4 separate regions of the Homo sapiens genome follow, and all the other regions are linked to region 4. The links are contacts of gene promoters, found by promoter capture Hi-C in human tissues and cell types (Jung and others, 2019). All regions are on one chromosome and are shown on one strand. Each heading gives the region's core, a stretch centred on a gene start or on the middle of the fragment in contact. The rest is flanking DNA. Distances are from core to core; before and after follow the strand shown. Region 1 overlaps DYNC2I2 (dynein 2 intermediate chain 2). Region 2 overlaps SPTAN1 (spectrin alpha, non-erythrocytic 1). Region 3 has its middle 2.2 kb from the start of SET. Region 4 holds the start of ENDOG (endonuclease G).

Evidence for each region. Contacts are between HindIII fragments. The study calls those that stand out against the background at their distance.
Region 1: a fragment that was not itself captured here is called in contact with the fragment with the promoter of ENDOG in region 4 in 1 of the 25 tissues and cell types used here (heart left ventricle).
Region 2: a fragment that was not itself captured here is called in contact with the fragment with the promoter of ENDOG in region 4 in 2 of the 25 tissues and cell types used here (IMR-90 fibroblasts and lymphoblastoid cells).
Region 3: a fragment that was not itself captured here is called in contact with the fragment with the promoter of ENDOG in region 4 in 1 of the 25 tissues and cell types used here (IMR-90 fibroblasts).

Annotation. Positions count from the first base shown.
Region 1 is chr9:128,641,095-128,643,947 of GRCh38, forward strand. The region is part of intron 1 of DYNC2I2 (dynein 2 intermediate chain 2); the gene reads right to left. Among named protein-coding and RNA genes, the nearest start is that of DYNC2I2, 14 kb to the right of the region's middle. RefSeq lists an enhancer at 1-368. The HindIII fragment of the contact is 3,394 bases long and covers 1-2,853 here.
Region 2 is chr9:128,606,932-128,609,944 of GRCh38, forward strand. SPTAN1 (spectrin alpha, non-erythrocytic 1) reads left to right here. Exons shown (of 57, transcript NM_001130438.3): 32 at 673-772; 33 at 921-1,118; 34 at 1,199-1,345; 35 at 1,943-2,046; 36 at 2,191-2,353; 37 at 2,720-2,734. Among named protein-coding and RNA genes, the nearest start is that of DYNC2I2, 48 kb to the right of the region's middle. The HindIII fragment of the contact is 5,536 bases long and covers 1-3,013 here.
Region 3 is chr9:128,685,510-128,688,603 of GRCh38, forward strand. It overlaps a transcript of SET not described here. Among named protein-coding and RNA genes, the nearest start is that of SET, 2.2 kb to the right of the region's middle. RefSeq lists enhancers at 430-519, 560-659, 2,010-2,886. The HindIII fragment of the contact is 6,109 bases long and covers 1-3,094 here.
Region 4 is chr9:128,816,967-128,819,798 of GRCh38, forward strand. It overlaps ENDOG (endonuclease G), which reads left to right and starts at 1,534. Exons shown (of 3, transcript NM_004435.2): 1 at 1,534-2,219. The coding sequence starts at 1,719. KYAT1-SPOUT1 (KYAT1-SPOUT1 readthrough) reads right to left here. Exons shown (of 25, transcript NR_182311.1): 25 at 2,685-2,832. It overlaps SPOUT1 (SPOUT domain containing methyltransferase 1), which reads right to left. Exons shown (of 12, transcript NM_016390.4): 12 at 2,685-2,832. RefSeq lists a silencer at 1,768-1,827 and enhancers at 1,932-2,497, 2,448-2,537. The HindIII fragment of the contact is 9,516 bases long and covers 1-2,832 here.

The DNA.
Region 1 (2,853 bases), core at 354-2,853, 180 kb before region 4:
TTGATTCTCCTATGTCCCACAACCAATCAGTGCCAGCCAATCAGAGCACCGTGTCCCTACCTCAGCCACAGTGACCAATTCAGGGCTGGCCAAGTGACCAACACAGGCCAGTGAGACCCTGCCCCAAGACTTTTGGTGCAACAATTCGGAGGAGTCAGAGGGCTCCCTTTCTGAAGATGCGGAGGGCAGGCAGAACCACATCGGCTCACAGCAGCACCCTGGCAGACACATGGTCTGATGCCCATGAACACCCCAGCTTCACACCACCAGGCCCTCCCTCAACGGGCAGCCCTCCCAGCACCCGGGTAAGCAACAGCAGCTTCAGCATCCACTATGAGCTGCTAGGTGGGAGGCAGAGCACTGCCCCCAGAGGCCTTGCTCTCCACCCTGCCACCACGCCTACTATTCCTGGTCCCCTGCTTAGCTGTACCTGGCACAGGTACAAACATCAGAACAGGGCAGGAGAGGCCAGCCTCCCTTTCTTACAGACATGCCCAATCTTCACCAAACCAAGGCTCTCTGGGCGGAAGCAATCATGGTGATTGCTGCTATCTGTGAGGGGCTCTCCTCGGGTGGCTGCTCAAGGGACAATGACAAGGCCCTGGACTGCCACACTCCCTCCTTCCCATCTCATGCGGGATTCGAGCTGGGCCAGGAGGCAAGCCCGGAGGAAGAGGGCAGGACTCACCAGGACAGTTCTCTTCTGAACACACAGGCCTCAGCACTGGTACCCACCCTCACCTCCACAGGCCACTCAGTTCTCTCTGCTTGTCTGTGTCCTACTGAACCGCCAGCCCCCCAGCATAAGACTCTTGTCTGATCTTTGTATCCCCAGCACTTTGCATGGTATTTGGCACAAAGCAGATGTTCATTTATATACATACACACACACACACACACACACACACAAATGCCGGGCACGGTGGCTCACGCCTGTAATCCCAGAATTTTGGGAGGCCGAGGCGGGCGGATCACAAGATCAGGAGATCAAGACCATCCTGGCTAACACGGTGAAACCCAATCTGTACTAAAAATACAAAAAATTAGCTGGGCATAGTGGCGAGCATCTGTAGTCCCAGCTACTCGGGAGGCTGAGGCAGGAGAATGGCGTGAACCCAGGAGGCGGAGCTTGCAGTGAGCCAAGATCGTGCCACTACACTCCAGCCTGAGCGACAGAGCAAGACTCCGTCTCAAAAAAAAAAAAAAAAAAAATTAGCCGGGTGTGGTGGCGCGTGCCTGTAATCCTAGCTACTCAGAAGGCTGAGGCAGGAGAACTGCTTGAACCCGGGAGGCGGAGGTTGCACTGAGCCGAGATCATGCCACTGCACTCCAGCCTGGCCTATGGTAGGAGACTTTCTCAAAAAAAAAAAAAAAAAAAAAAAATTACTTATTGAGGCCGGGCGCAGTGGCTCACGCCTGTAATCCCAGCACTTTGGGAGGCCGAGGCGGGCGGATCACAAGGTCAGGAGATCGAGACCATCCTGGCTAATACGGTGAAACCCCGTCTCTACTAAAAATACAAAAAAATTAGCCGGGCATGGTCCTGGGTGCCTGTAGTCCCAGCTACTCGGGAAGGCGTGAACCTGGGAGGCAGAGCTTACAGTGAGCCGAGATTGTGCCACTGCACTCCAGCCCGGGTGACAGAGCGAGACTCCATTTCAAAAAAAAAAATTACTTATTGAGCATCTACTTGCCAGGCATTGTCTGGGTAATGAGGACACAGCAGAAAAGAAAATGTGCAAGATTCTTGTGCCCCAGGCGCTTACATAGGGGTGGGGAGAGATGAATAAACAAGAAAAAAACACCAAATCCACACAGCACTGAGCACATGCAGAGGCACGAGAAAGGAAGGAAACAGCAAGGGAGGCTGTCTGGATGGGATGGCGAGGGTGGCCTCTTAGGGAGATGGCGTTTGAGCTGAGATGTGAAGGACATGAAGGAGCCGGCCAAGTGGAAAGCTTCAGGAAGGAGTGTAGTGGGCCAGAATAAAATGTCGTGGAGGAAAATCCCCTGAGCGCCGTGGCTCACGCCTGTGATTCCAGCACTTTGGGAGGCTGAAGCAAGAGGATCACTTGAGTCTAGGAGTTTGAGACCAGCCTGGGCAACAGAGGGAAACTCTGTACCTACAAAACAATTAAAAATTTGCCAGAAGCCAGGCGCAGTGGCTCATGCCTGTAATCCCAGCACTCTGGGAGGCTGAGGCGGGTTGATCATGAGGTCAGGACTTCAAGACCAGCCTGGCCAAGATGGTGAAACCCCGTCTCTACTAAAAATACAAAAAAATTAGCCAGGTGCAGTGGCAGGCGCCTGTAATCCCAATTGCTCAGGAGGCTGAGGCAGGAGAATCGCTTGAACTTGGGGGGCGGAGGTTGCAGTGAGCCGAGATCGTGCCACTGCACTCCAGCCTGGGTGACAGAGTGAGACTCCATCTCAAAAAAAAAAAAAAAAATTGCCAGGCATGACGGCGCATCCTGTAGTCCCCAGCTACTCAGAAGGCTAAAGTGTGAAGATTGCTTGAGTCCAGGAAGTGGAGGCTGCAGTGAGCAGTTGATTGTGCCACTGCACTCCAGCCTGGGCAACAGAGCAAGTAAAGCCCAAGACGACGTGTTGGACTCTGGGAATCGTGGAAAGAAGGAAATCCAGGGTGACCCTGGGATCTGCACTGAGAACCTGTGGACGGGGCGTCCCCAGATGTGAGGTCACACTCAGGCAGAGAACACAGGGCAGTTCTGTGGGGCCTGCTTTGGACTCAGATGCCTCAGCCACCCACGGGGAGGCACCAAGTATTCCCGGGGGAGGTCACAAAGCTCTGGAGAGTTTCTGACCAGACATGTGACTTGAAGCCCCAGAGCT
Region 2 (3,013 bases), core at 486-2,985, 210 kb before region 4:
ACATTCCTTAACTAATCACCCCCTCTTCTCTCTTCCCCACCCACTAGGAATCCTTTATCTGCTTTCTATGTCTATGGATTTGCCTCTTCTGGACATGTCATATAAAAGGAATCATACCATATCTGACCTTACACACTCAGTTTTGTGCCCTTGTGGTTGTACAGCTGTGAGAAACTGGATCAAATGTATGCCCAGGCCTAGGGCTTCAAGGGTTAATCCTAAAGAAAGGCTTTTTCTTTTTTTTCTTTTTTTTTTAGAGACAGGGTTGCACCACATTGCCCAAACTGATCTTGAATTCCTGAGCTCAAGCGATCCTCCTGCCTCAGCCTCCCAAAGTGCTGGGATTACAGGCATGAGCCACCACGCCTGGCCAACAAAAGCTTTTTCATTTGAAGCTATCAAAGACTTAATTGTAGCTAGAACTTGTTATTCTGGAGGGTGAAAAGATCTTAATTATAAGCCTACTGACTTTTCCTCTGAGAAATTCGGACTTTTAAAAAAATAACAAGAAGTTTTTTAACACTTTGCCCAAAGACCTAGCCTCATTCAGTAGATCAGATTAACCCAAGATAACTTTCTGAGGCAAGAATTATGTCATTCTCTGTTTTCCTGGGCAGAAGATCTCCTTACCAGGTAATATAATAGCTATTTTTCTGGGGTGCTGGTTTCCAGGGACCTCATGTCTTGGATCAATGGAATACGGGGGTTGGTGTCCTCAGATGAGCTAGCCAAGGATGTCACCGGAGCTGAGGCATTGCTGGAGCGACACCAGGTGGGTGGACCTGCCTGCTGAGTAGCAAAGACGTGGCTGCTCTGCAGGGCCCTAGAGGCCTCATTCCCACCCTTTGTGGTGAGTCGGTGGTTGACGTCAGAGTGGGCATCTGCTGCCAGTTACCTAATCCCTTCCCTCCTTTTGGCAGGAACACCGGACAGAAATCGATGCCAGGGCTGGCACTTTCCAGGCATTTGAGCAGTTTGGACAGCAGCTGTTGGCTCACGGACACTATGCCAGCCCTGAGATCAAGCAGAAACTTGATATTCTTGACCAGGAGCGTGCAGACCTGGAGAAGGCCTGGGTTCAGCGCAGGATGATGCTGGATCAGTGCCTTGAACTGCAGGTGTGTGTGCTCCTGGTTTCTGACCAAGTGTTTCCTTGCTGAAGGGCCTCATTTTCTCACCTGCCTCTTGCCCTCTTTAGCTGTTCCATCGGGACTGTGAGCAAGCTGAGAACTGGATGGCTGCCCGGGAGGCCTTCTTGAATACCGAAGACAAAGGAGACTCACTGGACAGCGTAGAGGCTCTGATCAAAAAACATGAAGACTTTGACAAAGCGATTAACGTCCAGGTGAGGCCTCTGGACCATGGAGTTGGAGTCTGGATTTTTCCTGATTGACATCTGTTTCTTGGCTTATATAGTCACTGTTATATCTCCAAGGAATACCTGCGTTGTCTAAGAAAAATATGTACATAAATAATCTTTAAAACTTTATAGATTCTGGTATTTCTGAGATTTTAATAATGGGGGTGCCACAGGAAAAAAAAATATTATCAAAGGGATGGAAAACAAATGTGTGGGTAGGTAAGGGAATAATGAACAAACAACAAGGAAGATGTAAAACTGTTTGATTTATACGTCACTTTGCTGTAAATCTGACAGCATTTTCCTATTATCAGGCTTAATTTTGTTCTGTTCTGATATTCTAACACCTGCCCCACCTGAGTGACCTGGAGACTTCTTGAGTTAAACTCTACTCTAGTAATGAATGAAATCAAGCTTTCTTTTGGCATTTTACACTCTTGCTTCTAAAGTGTCAGTGTATTCTGATCCTGCCACCAGCTAGTTCTCAGTCACCCAAAATAACTATCCTTTTCTCAAGACTGGCAGTCCAGGCAGGGCCCAGCCACAGGCCCACCTTGATCTCATGCCTTTGTTTTCTGACAGGAAGAGAAGATTGCTGCTCTGCAGGCCTTTGCCGACCAGCTCATCGCTGCCGGCCATTATGCCAAGGGAGACATTTCTAGCCGGCGCAATGAGGTCTTGGACAGGTGGGTGTCCTGTGGCACTGACATAGTCACCAGCCCTGAGAGGATGCATCCCCTCATACGAAGGCCCAGGCCTGTTCTGTCTCCCCACTTCCTTCTCCACGGTAAGATATGCTCATGTTGGATCTCATGGTTTCACTCTTTCAGGTGGCGACGTCTGAAAGCCCAGATGATTGAGAAAAGGTCAAAGCTAGGAGAATCTCAAACCCTCCAACAGTTCAGCCGGGATGTGGATGAGATTGAGGCTTGGATCAGTGAAAAATTGCAAACAGCGAGTGATGAGTCGTACAAGGATCCCACCAACATCCAGGTAAGCTGAAGTGACTGGGTGTTGGTCTTGATGTAGCCTTATGTTATTGAGTAGATTTTGTTAAATAAAGCATTTATAAAACAATCTCCTTGCACCCATGGGAAGTCAGTGAGAAATATTTCAGTAAGCCCAGCCAGTGGGAAAGCCCTAGTCAAGTTTCAGAGCCATTTAAAAGTTGCCTTCCTCATTTGTCTCCATTAAAACTATTTCTGCTGTAATAAAAGTCTATAGAATCCCCCTTCTATTACTGTTCCCAAATGCTGAGCTTCCTGGGGGAAGTATGACAAAATGAGTTTCTATTTAATAGCTGATATGTGTGTCCACATCAGTGTACTGAACTCTTGTTCTTTTAATCTGTTTTTGTAGCTTTCCAAGCTGCTGGTAAGTTTTTAATTTTTTTAAGAGTTGTAGTTAAATGAGCTCCAGTATTTGTGTTACTCTGCGTAGATTATTGTTATTATTGTGGTCACACGGTTTGCTGGTGTCTCTTCATCCATCCTTTTCATTTCTAATCATCCATTACACTCCATTCAAGTGTCCCTGTGGGATGTGGCTTTTTCTGTTGTAATTAGCCTGCAACGCCTTACTCCCCCTTCTCTCCCCCAGTTTATCACTTAGGCAAATTCTGTACAGTGTTTGATTTGCGGGGCAGTAATTGAC
Region 3 (3,094 bases), core at 541-3,040, 130 kb before region 4:
CAGAAGCTGTGCCAAGCACTTCTCTATCCTCACAGCCGTATGCTGTGGACATCCCAATTTTACAGATCAGAACAGGAGGCTCAAAGAGATGTGTATGTGTCTGTGGCGGGGGAGATGTTCCAGGCTCTGGAGATTTTTTGGTCTGTGCTTGGGACACTGCAGCACTGTGGGGGAATGCCAGCCTCTCTCTGTTCCAGTCTTTCTGGCGGTGGGGTTCTGTCCTCTTCAAAGGGAGCCGGGGGCCGGGCGCGGTGGCTGACGCCTGTAATCCCAGCACTTTGGGAGGCCGAGGTGGGCAGATCACCTGAGGTCAGAAGTTCAAGACCAGCCTGGCCAACATGGCTAAACCCCATCTCTACCAAAGACAGTTAGCCAGGCGTGACGATGCATGCCTGTAATCCCAGCTACTTGGGGGGCTAAGGCAGGAGAATTGCTTGAACTCCGGAGGCGGAGGTTGCAATGAGCCGAGTTCGTGCCATTGCACTCCAGCCTGGGCGACAAGAACAACAACAACAACAACAAAAAAAAAAACAACCAGAGGGGCCAGGAGGAGAGGAGAGAGGCAAGGGAGGAATTCTGAGTGAGGGGAGAGGCCAAGAAGAGAGAATGCAGAGCTTCTGGTGTTGGAGACGGGGAGAGAGCAGAGTCCTAAGAGTGGGTGAATAACCTCTCAGTGTGCCCCCGGCTCGCCTGTGTTTACTCACACCCCTGGCCCTTTTGCTTTCTCTTTCTCTTCAACTTCCTAGTGTGCTCATATTTATCTTGAGAAGCACTGTGTGGGGAAGGGCAGGAAAAGAGGGGCAGGGAGGTGGCAGGGAGGGTTGGGAGGCCAGAAAGGGAACCTGAAAGCCCACTCCCCCATCAGAAGGCATTACAGGGTTCCCTGGGACCCCTGCAGGTGCTTGGGAAACAGGCAGATAAGGCACTTAGGAGACATTGTGGGTCAGGAGTGACCCTATGGGTCAGGCTTTGAGGATGGAAGCAGCCAGCCCTTGGCATAGTGTTCTCAGACAGACTCAGCCCAGGAGCGGGTCGTGAAATCAATTTGGTGGGGTGTGACCTGCATTTTAAATAGGAAATTAGAATCACATCACCCTTGGTAAGGGTAAGTTTTGGTTTGTGTGTGCTAGGTCATGATGTCAAAAGTACTTCTGACTGTTGGTCACATTAAAAAAACTGAGGCAGGGTGCGATGGCTAACTCTTGTAATCCCAGAGCTCTGGAAGGCTGAGGCTGAAGGATGGTTTGAGCTCAGGAGTTTGAGACCAGCCTGGGCAACATGGTGATACCTCCTCTCTACAAAAGATAAAAACAAAATTAGCCAGGCAAGGTGGCAGTGGTGCTTGCCTGTGGTCCCAGCTACTCAGAAGGCTGAGGTGTAAGAATCCCCAGAGCCCAGGAGGTCAAGGCTGCAGTGAGCCATGGTTCTGGGCGACAGAGAGAGACCCTGTCTCATAATAATAACAACAATAAAAATAGAAAAACTGTTTTAAGGTAAGGGCTTTGTCAATTGCTACTTGGTTTAGAATCTTGGTTCTGTCACTTGCAACAAAGTTTAGTTTATGCTAGGCACAGTGGGTGGCTCATGCCTGTAGTCCCAGCACTTTGGGAGGCCGAGGTGGGCAGATCACCTGAGGTCGGGAGTTCGAGACCAGCCTGGCCAACATGGTGAAACCCCGTCTCTACTAAAAAATACAAAAATTAGCTTGGCATGGTAGTGGGCGCCTGTAATCCCAGATACTCGGGAGGCTAAGACACTCACCGTGCACTGTCTTGAACATGAAAGATGCTGCTTGAGCTTTAAGAGCTGATAGTGGGCCGAGCTCAGTGGCTCATGCCTGTAATCTCAGCACTTTGGGAGGCAGAGGCAGGTGGATCACCTGAGGTCAGGAGTTTGAGACCAGTCTGGCCAACATGGTGAAAACCTGTCTCTACCAAAAAATACAAAAATTAGCAGGGCGTGGTGACTCACATCTGTAATCCTAGCAACTCAGGATGCTGAGGCAGGAGAATCACTTGAACCCGGGAGGCGGAGGTTGCAGTGAGCTGAGATGGCACCACTGCACTCCAGCCTGGAAGACAGAATGAGACTTGGTCCCCTCCCCCACCAAAAAAAAAAAAAAAAAAAAAGAGCCAATGGTAAAGTGTGAGTTCTGGAAGGCAGAATTCCAACCCCAAGTTCTGGTTAAAAATGTCCAAAGAGAGATTTCAGGTATTTTTTTGTTTTTGTTTTAGAGATAGGGTCTTGCTCTGTCACTCAGGCTTCAGTGCAGTGGCTGCATTGGGGCTCATTGAAGCCTGGAATTCCTGGGCCCAAGCGATCCTCCTGCCTTGGCCTCCCAAAGTGTTGGGATAACAGGAGTGAGCTATTGCATGGCCAGGATTTGAAATTGGCCAGCGTATCACTAAAATCAACAAATGGTACTGGCCGGGCGCAGTGGCTCCCGCCTGTAATCCCAGCACTTTGGGAGGACGAGGTGAGTGGATCACCCCAGGTCAGTAGACCAGCCTGGCCAAGGTGGTGAAACTCCATCTCTACTAAAAATACAAAAATTAGCCGGGCATGGTGGCACGTGCCTGTAGCCCCAGCTACTCGGGAGGCCGAGGCAGGAGAATTGCTTGAACCCGAGAGGCAGAGCTTGCAGTGAGCCAAGATTGCGCCACTGCACTCCAGCCTGGGGGACAGAGCAAGACTCCCGTCTCAAAACAAACAAACAAATGCTACTAATCAGGGTTTTTCTGGCTTTTTATGGTTCATGTCTTGGGGTGCTGGAGGGACAGAATGTGGGGCATCCGCATTACTTGAAAAGTATTATTTAAACAAAATGCTTTGGCCCTCCTTAGTGGTTCAGAACTTTGCCTCTCAAGTAGAACTTGTTGGCCCCTTTCATCTCTATGAACAGAACACCGCCTATCGCTTGGGGCTGTTGTGAGGCCTCGGTGAGATAACCGTGCCATGCGCTGCTGAAACTGGCACTTAACGCTCAGTATGATTCTTGCGGGCGCTGGGCACCGCGGACTAATGTGGTACCTCCCTGCCTTCACAGGACTTCGAGTTTAATGTGGCTTCAGTGTCGTAACCTTTATCATTTCAT
Region 4 (2,832 bases), core at 284-2,783:
TAGCTACTCGGGAGGGTGAGGCAGGAGGATGGCTTGAGCCCAGGAGGTCAAGGCTGCAGTGAACTGTGATCTTGCCACTGCACTCCGTGTGGGTGACAGCACAAGACCTTATTTTCCTTAAAGGAAAAAAAAATGCTAAGAGTGGCTGGGTTGGGTGGCCCATGTCTATAACCCCAGCACTTTGGGAGGCCAAGGTGGGTGGATCACAAGGTCAGGAGTTAGTTCGAGACCAGCCTGGCCAACATGGTGAAACCCATTCTTTACTAAAAGTACAAAAATTAGCTGGGCGTGGTGGCGCGCGCCTGTAGTCCCAGCTACTCAGGAGGCCGAGGCACGAGAATCGCTTGAACCAAGGAGGCGGAGGTTGCAGTGAGCCTGGGCGACAGAGCGAGACTCCGTCTCAAAAAAAAAAAAAAATTAGCTGGGCCTGGTGGTGCGCGCCTGTAATCCCAGCTACTTCAGAGGCTGAGGCAGGAGAATCACTTGAACCTGGGAGGCAGAGGTTCCACTGCGCGGAGATCACGCCATTGCACTCCAGCCTGGGCAATAGAGTGAGACTCCGTCTCAAAAAATAAAAGTCCTTAACCAGTCCATATTTCTGAATATTTTGCTTATTCCTGCCGGCAGTGTAATACTCTGGTGAATATTTGCGTTCGAGATCCTTGCATTCCCGAGATTTCCCCAGCTCAGCCCTCTGCGTGGGTTGAACGGTATGAACCTTTTTAAGGCTTCGCTTGTACTGTACTGTCAAGCTGTTTTTTGGAATATTCGCCCCAGGTTTCTGTTCCAGCCAGCAGCCAGCATCAGCCGTCTGCATCCTTGTCCTCAAACTGCTGTTAATTAAAATCTTTGCCAATCTGGGCCGGGCGCGGTGGCTCACGCCTGTAATGCCAACACTTTGGGAGGCCGAGGCCGGCGGATCGCCTGAGGTCGGGAGTTTGAGACCAGCCTGACCAACATGGAGAAACCCTGTCTCTACTAAAGATACAAAATTAGCCGGGCGTGGTGGCGCATGCCTGTAATCCCAGCTACTTGGGAGGCTGAAGCAGGAGAATCGCTTGAACCTGTGAGGCGGAGGTTGCAGTGAGCCGAGATCACGCCATTGCACTCGAGTCTGGGCGACCAGAGCGAAACTCCGTCTCAAAAAAAAAAAAAAAAAAAAAGAAACCTTTGCCAATCTGGTAGAATTGCGGGGCTTATTTTATGGTGTCATGGAGGATAGCCTAGGGCCAGATATACCTGGGGCCCTGTGCCTGCTCTGCGAACTAGGAGCTCACTCTCCGAGCGGTGTAGAGGGTGAGACTAAGCAGTGACAGTAAAAGCTTTCGACAGTGCTTGACCCTTCCGCGGAGCGTATTAAGCAGGAGCTCCCTGCGCAGGCGCAGAGGAGAGAGTGTCTCCCACCCCACGACCAGCAGGGGGCCTGCGAGGCGGGTGCGGAGCCAGGCCTGATGGTGGCCAATCGCGAGCTGAGGCGACGATGCCACGCCCCTCATACCGGCGTCTTAAATGCGCAAAGAAAGGACGCCGGGGACACCCGGTTGGGCTCTGCTGCTCCCTTCTGGGTTCCGAGGCCCAAGCCCTTGGCAGTGTTTGTGAGTGGAAGGGAGGTCACGCTATCGTCCGCGGCCCCAGCAGCCCTGTGCCCTCGTTGGATCCCGCGACGCGGCTCCTTTAAGAGCCTCGCGGGTCGCCCGCCGCTAGGTCGCTCCCCGGCCATGCGGGCGCTGCGGGCCGGCCTGACCCTGGCGTCGGGCGCGGGGCTGGGTGCGGTCGTCGAGGGCTGGCGGCGGCGGCGGGAGGACGCGCGGGCGGCGCCGGGACTGCTGGGCCGGCTGCCCGTGCTGCCCGTGGCGGCGGCAGCCGAGTTGCCCCCTGTGCCCGGGGGACCCCGCGGCCCGGGCGAGCTGGCCAAGTACGGGCTGCCGGGGCTGGCGCAGCTCAAGAGCCGCGAGTCGTACGTGCTGTGCTACGACCCGCGCACCCGCGGCGCGCTCTGGGTGGTGGAGCAGCTGCGACCCGAGCGTCTCCGCGGCGACGGCGACCGGCGCGAGTGCGACTTCCGCGAGGACGACTCGGTGCACGCGTACCACCGTGCCACCAACGCCGACTACCGCGGCAGTGGCTTCGACCGCGGTCACCTGGCCGCCGCCGCCAACCACCGCTGGAGCCAGAAGGCCATGGACGACACGTTCTACCTGAGCAACGTCGCGCCCCAGGTAGCGCCCGCGCCCCGGGCCGGTCGCGGAATGCGGGGCCGGCGCCTGGCCTCGCGGGGCCTCGGTTTGTTCTTCTGCAGAACGGGGCAGCTGCCCAACGCGCCCCCGGTCAGGCATCGCAGTGACATCCCGTGGCGGGAGGGAGGAGCACTGGGCTCCAGGCACAGGGTCTGCAGGCCGACCAGGGCTTGAGCTTCAACTGCGAACCCTGGGCACCTCCCTGAGCGTCGCTTTCCTCGTCAAAAAAATGGGGATAATACCGTTATTCACCTTCCTCCTGCGGTAGTGATGAGGCGCTGAGGCTCACAGAGGCAAAGTGACGGGCACAGTGTCACACAGCAGAAGAAGGCTGTCTGTTGTAGAACCGCAGCGCCCAACCTATTGGGCACCAGGGTGCGGTTTCGTGGAAGACAGTTTTTCCACGGCTTGGTGGGTGAGGGCGGGTTTCAGGATAATTCAAGTGCGTTACATTTATGTACATTTTATTTCTATTATTATTACATTGTAACATATAGTGAAATATACAACTCACAGTAATGTAGGATCCGTGGGAGCCCTGAGCTTGTTTTCCTGCAACTAGACAGTCCTATCTGGAGGTGATGGGCAACAACGA